2 separate regions of the Homo sapiens genome follow, and region 2 is linked to region 1. The links are contacts of gene promoters, found by promoter capture Hi-C in blood cells and fetal thymus (Javierre and others, 2016). All regions are on one chromosome and are shown on one strand. The core of a region is centred on a gene start or on the middle of the fragment in contact, and the rest is flanking DNA. Distances in the headings are between cores, read along the strand shown.

Evidence for each region. Contacts are between HindIII fragments. The CHiCAGO score rates a contact against its expected background, and 5 or more counts as called.
Region 2: a contact is called between a fragment that was not itself captured here and the fragment with the promoter of RPS23 in region 1, in 2 of 17 cell types (fetal thymus and M0 macrophages). The highest score is 9.3, in fetal thymus.

Annotation. Positions count from the first base shown.
Region 1 is chr5:82,276,644-82,280,648 of GRCh38, reverse strand. It overlaps RPS23 (ribosomal protein S23), which reads left to right and starts at 2,295. Exons shown (of 4, transcript NM_001025.5): 1 at 2,295-2,329; 2 at 2,797-2,956. The coding sequence starts at 2,326. It also overlaps the pseudogene ATP6AP1L. RefSeq lists an enhancer at 1,975-2,304. The HindIII fragment of the contact is 8,285 bases long and covers 1,794-4,005 here.
Region 2 is chr5:83,560,515-83,564,519 of GRCh38, reverse strand. The region is part of intron 12 of VCAN (versican); the gene reads right to left. It overlaps VCAN-AS1 (VCAN antisense RNA 1), which reads left to right and starts at 2,206. Exons shown (of 3, transcript NR_136215.1): 1 at 2,206-2,489. It overlaps LOC124901021 (a long non-coding RNA gene), which reads right to left and starts at 2,305. Exons shown (of 2, transcript XR_007058847.1): 1 at 1,088-2,305. The HindIII fragment of the contact is 826 bases long and covers 1,771-2,596 here.

The DNA.
Region 1 (4,005 bases), core at 1,046-3,545:
AATAGGGTGCCATTTCTCTGCACATAAAAAATGTCTTTCAAAAATTGTCTATAGTTGCTGTCTAGACTTCCTTCCCTCCCATATTCTCTTCACTCCGATCCCATCGCCTTTCACTTTCAGTACTCCATGGAGTCCCCATTTGACAAAGTGACCAGTAATCTCCACATTTTCAAGTCCAAAAGGCAATTCTCAGTCCTCATCTTATCTCTTTTCACACTTTCTCACTCCCTTCTTCACTTGGCTTTGAACAGAGTGTAACATTGGCCACTCTTTCTTCATCTGTTTTGCTTCACCTGCCTTCTCTTCTGTACCACTAAACTTTGGTGTGCTCAGGACTCTAATCTCTGTTCTACCTACAGTCATCACCTAAGCTATCTCAACTAGAGCCACAGTTTTAATACTATTTATTCATTGATTACTCCTCAGCTTCTTATCATATATCCAACTGTCCACTTCACATCCCTGGATGTTTGACAGTTCAAACTTAACACATCCAAACCAGAACTCTTCATTTCCTCCTTTGAAATTTGCTCCTCTCCTCGTATTTCCCACTTTGGAACTCACCCAACTCACAACTCACAACTCTACAACTCACCCAAGTGCTGAGGTCAAAAATCATAGTGCTGTAATTAACTCCTCTCTCACATCCTACAGTCCTGAGCAAATTCTGTTCATTCTACCACCAAACAGTGTATCTGACCCAACCACTTTTTACTGTCTCCACTGAGGGTCCAAGCTATCACCATCTCTCATCTGAACTATTGCAATACCTTCCCAAGTGGCCTCCCAGATTCATGTCTTTTTCTCCTCTCAACAGCCAGAGTAACCCCATAAAAATATAAATCTTATTTTGCTACCTACTCCCAAGCTCAAAACTTTACAATGGCTTTAAATCACCAGAAGAGTAGAAAAAGGCTTTACCATGGCCTACAGGCTCCACATGTTCCTGTGTAACTCTCAGACCCCATCTAATGCCACACTACTCCTCAGTCACTATGCTCCCCTTCTTCACTGATCTTTCAGTTCTTAGAAAGCACTAGCCCATTCTACATCTGCACAGAGATGTCACCTTAAACTACCCTATCCAGAGTAGCCACCCCCATCCCCAAGTCACTATCACCCATCCAGCTATATTTTCTCTATAGCTCTACAGTATGTAAAAATCATCTATTTAATTATTTAATTTACATCTATCTAACTGGTCTGTCCTCTCACATTTAGAATATAAACTGTATCAGAGCAGAAACCTTCACCCTCTTAATTTAACCGCCATATTCCCGGTACCTACAACAGCGTCTGGCACATAGAAGGCATTTTTAAACATCCTTGCTGAGTGAACCAATATCCCAGAAACCTCTCACAGCTAGTTCATCTTACAGGAGAAACAGTATTAAAGAGTTAATTAAATGGCCAGGCGCGGTGGCTCACGCCTGTAATCCCAGCACATTGGGAGGCCGAGGCGGGCGGATCACTCGAGGTCAGGAGATCGACACCAGCCTGGCCAACATGGTGAAACCCCCTCTCTACTGAAAATACAAACATCAGCCAGGCGTGATGGTGGAAGCCTGTAATCCCAGCTACTCAGGAGGCTGAGGTGGGACAATCGCTTGAACCCGGGAGGCGGAGGTTGTAGTGAGCCAAGATCGCACCACTGCACAACAGCCTAGAAGACAGAGTGAGACCCTGTCTCAGAAAAAAATAAAAATAAAAATAAATAAATCTATAAGTAAATGACTCGCCAGTCAAAATAAACGGCAACTTTAGGGTTAAAGGCCCAATCTGGCTCCAAAGCTTGGGGTTTTAGTTACTACACTACATTGCTTCACTATATTTTACAATTTACTAGCTGCTTATAAGTATGAATTAAGGCTCAGAAGTCTAATTTTCCAGACTACTCGGAGGACTCTCGCCCCACTCCACTCCACAAAGATTCAGCTCAGCGACTCCTTCCTACTCTGACCTAGCCCCGCGTCCCGCTCTCAGTGGCTTGGGCAAGAGCGCCTGCGCGGTGAGCGGGTCCCATAAAACGCATTCTGGGATTGGTAGTCCATGTTCCTCCGGTCTCCAGCATTCAAAAGAAAAAGGGGGAAAAAAAACCATGCAAATTAGATATCTCTGAATTTCTTGCAAATTAAATAAGACGCAGATTCTGGCTCAGGAAAGTGATGCAAACGCGTCGTTTTCAAAGGAGAGACCCCAGCCTCGGGTCAGGCGCGGCGCAGACAGCGGCGCGGGGTCCTTGGCTGGGCGGGGCTTGCTCGCGGTGGCTTGTGGCTCCTTCCTGCGGTGCTTCTCTCTTTCGCTCAGGCCCGTGGCGCCGACAGGATGGGTGAGCTGTTGTGGCCGGTTTAAGGGCGCTGCAAGCGGGACTTGGGGTCTTGGGGACGGGCGGGCGGATGCGAATAGAGTAGGGCGGGGGATGCCATGGAGAGGCTCCATGGGGGAGGGCCGGGGAAGCGCCGCTCCAGGAGGCACGTGGTCCGGCGCGGAAGGGGCCCATGAGGCGTGGAGGCCGCCGAGGTCGGGGTACCGAGGGACGCAGGGAGGCCAGCGCTTCCTCCCGGGCATTCGAGCGGGGCCTCGTCCTTCGGGAGAACACATTCTCCGGAGCCCTCTTCGAACGTTTATTAGTCGGTTCAGGGCAACTTGAAGGCCAAATGTTTGGCCCACAGGCCAATAAATAGTACGAGAGCCAATCGGCTTAAGGGTTTATTCCAGGTGAGGCGAGTGTCTTAGAAGATGGGAAACACGTAGATGGCGTGTTTTTACGGAAGAACTAAAATATTTAATTTTTAGGCAAGTGTCGTGGACTTCGTACTGCTAGGAAGCTCCGTAGTCACCGACGAGACCAGAAGTGGCATGATAAACAGTATAAGAAAGCTCATTTGGGCACAGCCCTAAAGGCCAACCCTTTTGGAGGTGCTTCTCATGCAAAAGGAATCGTGCTGGAAAAAGTGTAAGTCCATTGCTCCCGTCAAGTTTTAGTTTATTATAGGAATTCGAGACATGAACTTACGAATTCTTGTTTTGAAAGTAATTGCAGGTTTTTGTGTAGTAGTATTCATTTGGGCATTGTGGGGTAAAATTGCAAAGCGTTTGTTCTATTTAAAAGTTGGTAAAATTAGTTTTTGGGAATTAGGTAGTTAAGGTTTTAATTTAACGTTGGCCTGGAAGGAATTGGAGAAGATACTAGCAATGATGAAGTAAAGGACACAAACACCTTTACTGTGGGAGTTGTTATAAGTAAATGGCACGTGTCAGCTATTGAACTTTATCGACTTGATAAAACTAAGGTGAAGAGAAGTGACTTGCATCAGAATTAATTGAGGTCATACACCTAAGATTGAGACATGAAACTGCCAGTATTTGACTGGTTTTGACTTTTTAAAATAATAATTTCATATAGTTCTATCATATTTGATGGTAGAGCCATTTTAACCCAGACTTTTTTTTTTTTTTTTTTTTTTTTTGAGACAGTCTAGCTCTGTCACCCAGGCTGGTGTGCAGTAGCGCAAGACTCCCTGCAACCTTAGCCTCCCAGGTTCAAGCATTTCTCCTGCCTCAGCCTCCCAGGTAGCTGGGATTACAGGCGCCCACTACCACACCAGCTAATATTTTGTATTTTCAGTAGTGATGGGGTTTCACCATGTTGACCAGGCTAGTCTCAAACTCCTGACCTCAGGTGATAATGCCTGCTTCGGCCTCCGAAAGTGCTGGAATTACAGGCGTGAGCCACTGTGTCCGGCCCAGACTTTCTAATTCTTACCTCAGATACCTTTTTTCTTTTTTCTTTTTTTTTTTTTGAGATAGGGTCCCTTGTCACACAGGCTGGCCATCTTGACGTTCTAGGCATAGATCCTCCCACGTCAGCCTCGCAAGTAGTTGGGACTACAGGCCCACGCTGCCACTCCAGTCTACTTTTATAACTGTAAAAGGTCTAGAAATTTCCCCCATTGTGCTAATGAAATTAAGACTGGCAGAAAACTAGGTTGACATCACAGGACT
Region 2 (4,005 bases), core at 934-3,433, 1.3 Mb before region 1:
CATGTGTTAGCTTCATGCTGCATTTGAAAAATCCTCTCATTTCACATTTAACTTTCAGGATCACAGTATCATGCAATTTATACTAGAATTAAGAAACTATTCAAAACTACAGGAACTTGATTTACAGATAGTATTATTCTTGTGTGTATCTGGGTGTAGTTCTGTGAATGTGGTTTTGAAACACAAAATACAATACGACCACTAGGTGGTGATATATATCCATTCTTACATTATGAATTAACGGCTACACCACTTAACAAAAGAGAACTTGGAATATGTCCCCCAAAATCGTAATTATGTACTCCATGTGGCAAAAATAAAAAAATAAAAATAAAAAATAAAAGATTGTCTGGGATATGTTCTCTCAGTTTTGTGAGTGAAAACACAAAGAGAACACTTTGCAAGAAGACAGACCTCGGTGAACCAGTATTTACCAACCTGACTGCATTCTATTCTGTTGCAAGCCATTCTATCCATAATCTGAATTTTCTTTCTGTCTAAAATGTTCACCTACGGTAGTTTCTTCTTTTCCACTCTGTCTTTTAAAATTATCCGATGATTTACATCAATGGTGAAATTGCATCAGAACCAAAGCCAAATGTGCAACATCCACCTAAAATCCTTAGGAGAGGTCAGATCATAGATAAACACCTAAGCACACAAATGCAATGTCTGCAGCGTGAGTCACAGTTAGTTTGTTTTTCCGTAAAAATTTATCTAGATTAGCTATGAAAACATGACACCTGCAGTAAGAGCTGACTTCTTTGTGCGCAAACTCTTTTCATCACCTGGGGCCCATATTGCCACTGCTGTACTCCCAGAGCTACAAAATTCAATCCAAACGCACTGGATACCAAGGGCAAGCAGATAACCACCGAAGTAGGAAAGCAAATTCCAAACAGAAAACACTTTCCCAAGAGGACAGGTACCTGTTTGAAACATATGCCGATAAGAAACCATCTTTTCACTAAATAACAAACAGAATAACCACTTGGGGTTAGCCTCAGCCTTTCAGAACACAGGTCAAATGGTTATCTGAAAAGAGGCTATGAGGACTACTTATTACAGAAATCAAAACATTTGGTACCTTTAAAATGACTTTTTTATCCCTAGATGGCTGGTGTACACAATAGGCATTTGTTTGCAGTCTGGAGGGGGAGTGGTGCATTTAACTTTGTCTTGTTTGTTAGGGGCAAATGACTTCCCTGCAAGGTAAAGATAAACCTTCTTCTGATCCTTGTACTTGCTTAAGGTTAGTCTAGTCTGGGTCCTTCTTTATTTATGTTTTAAGGGAGGTTATGGTTTTGCTGCTGTCTTTTAGTTGAACAGGGTAATTCGTTGACCGACAACTGAAAAGAAAAGAGCAGCTTTGTTTTAAAGGAGAAAGAGACGTTTGTTTTGGTGTCACTACCCTATGCTGGCAGCCTGGAGTTGGATCCTACAAACATGAATATGCTGAAGGGAAGAAAAACTAACTTGGGGTCTCCTGATAGTTGTTAAAGTGGCAATATGCCCATTATTTTCCTAGCTGGCAAACCTCTGTGCGGGAAAGACAATCTGGCCAGCTCTTGAGAACAGCACTAATCTTGTGTAATAGTGTGAGCTCACTGCCCTACAAAGCAGCAATTATCAACAGCATTTTCAGAAGGATGTGAGTTACTCGCACTGTGAGACCACTGTGAGAGAGGGGGCCTCAGGCAGAGGCCCAGAGAGCAACTTGCATTTAATCCATAGAATGAATGGTGCCAGTAGGCTCCTTTACCCCAAGCTTATTTGCACAGGTCTCCAGTCATGAAGGGCTGACGATCCAAATGTAAGGAGAGACTGCCAAAGCTCATTCAATATATTTTTTTTTTTTGGCCTTTTCCATGGTTATGCATTGCCTTAAACTAATTAGCAATTAGATTTAAATATCTGCATGAGATTTTAAAGTTGCACAGAAGACTGTTGGAAAAGCATCTGTGAGATGCTACTGCACTAAATCTCCTTTTCTTATTCTTTATAATAATCTTGTCAATTATAAAATGATTTTCCAGTAGTGAGTAAATATGGTTCTTCCAGCTGTTCAACCCACCACTAGCTATCTGAACTGAAAGACAAGGCAGAGAGCAGAGTTGCGTTCTAGAACTACTCTATGACTCATAATATCTCACATTTAGAATCAGAAGAATCAGTTCTTGATTCCAAATCAAATTAAACTACAACACAAGTCAAAATTTTCATTAAGAACTCAGTAGTCTTTCACAGAAGGGAATCTGAGAATTCTTCCACTCATGAGTAATGTGTTAAAGAATGAGAAAAGAGCATGTTTTCCTTGGCTTTTGGATTAATACAATAAAGCCTGTGAAGTTTAACATAATTAAATTAATGTTGATATGCAGTGTGACTTGTTCACAGAGAAATGGTATTTGACTTAGAGCTAATGCCACATCACAGCTGACATACATCCATCTGCAAATGTTGTATAGAAAGTCTTCTAAGATCTTCAGGTAGGAAAAGGAAAACTTAAATTTTTGTTGTGGGGATTGTGTTTTGCATTGTTTTTCTGTCAAATCATGTGAAATCCTTTCAAATGAGCAGAAATCTACAACAAGCTTAGAAAGCACTGGAATTAATGAATACTCCGTATTCTCTTTTCAATGTCCAAGACATCTGGGAGAGGAAGGGGAATAAGAACCTTTGTGTTTATGAAAGGGTAATAATGATACATTGCTGCAGAAAAACAATAATGGTTTATGGTCCGTGATTTGTTACTCCATTTTTTCTGCCCCTTTTAAGTGTCTCTTCCTGGGTAAGGGCTATTTCTTTATTGTTTCTACCTTTTTCAAAGCTGGCTTTTCTCACAATACTTTGCTTGACAGACTGATGTGTTTATTTATGAAAGAAGAAGAAGGAGCCTCTGGATTTAAAGTCAAATCCACACATCTGGACATTCTTGTGCATCAACTCGAATCAACTGGTGAAGGGGGACAAGTGGGTGTTGGAAATTGTAGGTATTAAGTTGCCAAAGCTGAACTATGCTTACCAAAATGAAAAACAAAATGCAAAATTGAGTTATCTTCCAGAAATATTTTTAAGAAGAATTTAAGTAATGAAGGTTAATTGTACAATTAATTGTACTAATTGTCCTATCAATTAGTTTTTTTTTTAGTTTATATCACAACTATCATAGCAAGATGAGTTGGTTAGAGCTAGAAAATAAGATATTTATGAATCTGTGATTTAGTAACTTGTTCTAGAACTTCCTGACCAGATTTGGACAAATGTAGAAGAGAGAAAGTCTCTCTGTTTTCTCCCAACTGTAGAATGGAAAGTGAGAAGAAGGAAGCTGTGATAATTTCCCAGGAAGCAGGGAAGCCAGCAGCCTCACGGGGTGTGACATTTGAGTCCTGACAATGTAGAGATGACAGAAGTAAAAAAAGTGAAGGAGATGCAGAAAATGTTTTTTAAAATGTTTAGGAATAAAGTCAGGGCTTTTTCTGCAGAACAAACTAAATATTCCAAAAACTCCCCAATATTTTAAAAATGGAATGGCAATGTCAGTTTTATTCAGTCCTCGGCCTCTATACATGGCCATCTAAAGTGATGGTTCCCTTTGAAGTAAATGCGTCTGATCCACTGAAGACACCAGTGTCCAGTGGGGAAGGGTCAGCTTTGATGGTGCTGGGGGGAATCATTGAAGAAAGGAACAATGTGGAGCCCAGAGAATCGCCTCGTGAGAATCTTACTCCAGAGGGTCCAAGAGAGAAGGAAGCAATATGACAGCTTTAAATCTCTGAGCTCCACAATTTGATTTTAAACCACTTGTTGGAGAGGTTTGTCAGACAGAACAGTATGATGAAAGCATGTAAGAGTTTCTGATAGCTCCTTAATTGGGCTGTCCCATAGACACTATAGTCTTTAGTTGAAAACAGTGTTGTGAAAATCATTTTGCCAGGAGGTATACTGACAGATAAATATAAATGATTCCATAACGTTCCCTGCCTGTCTGGCTTCCTCTGCACT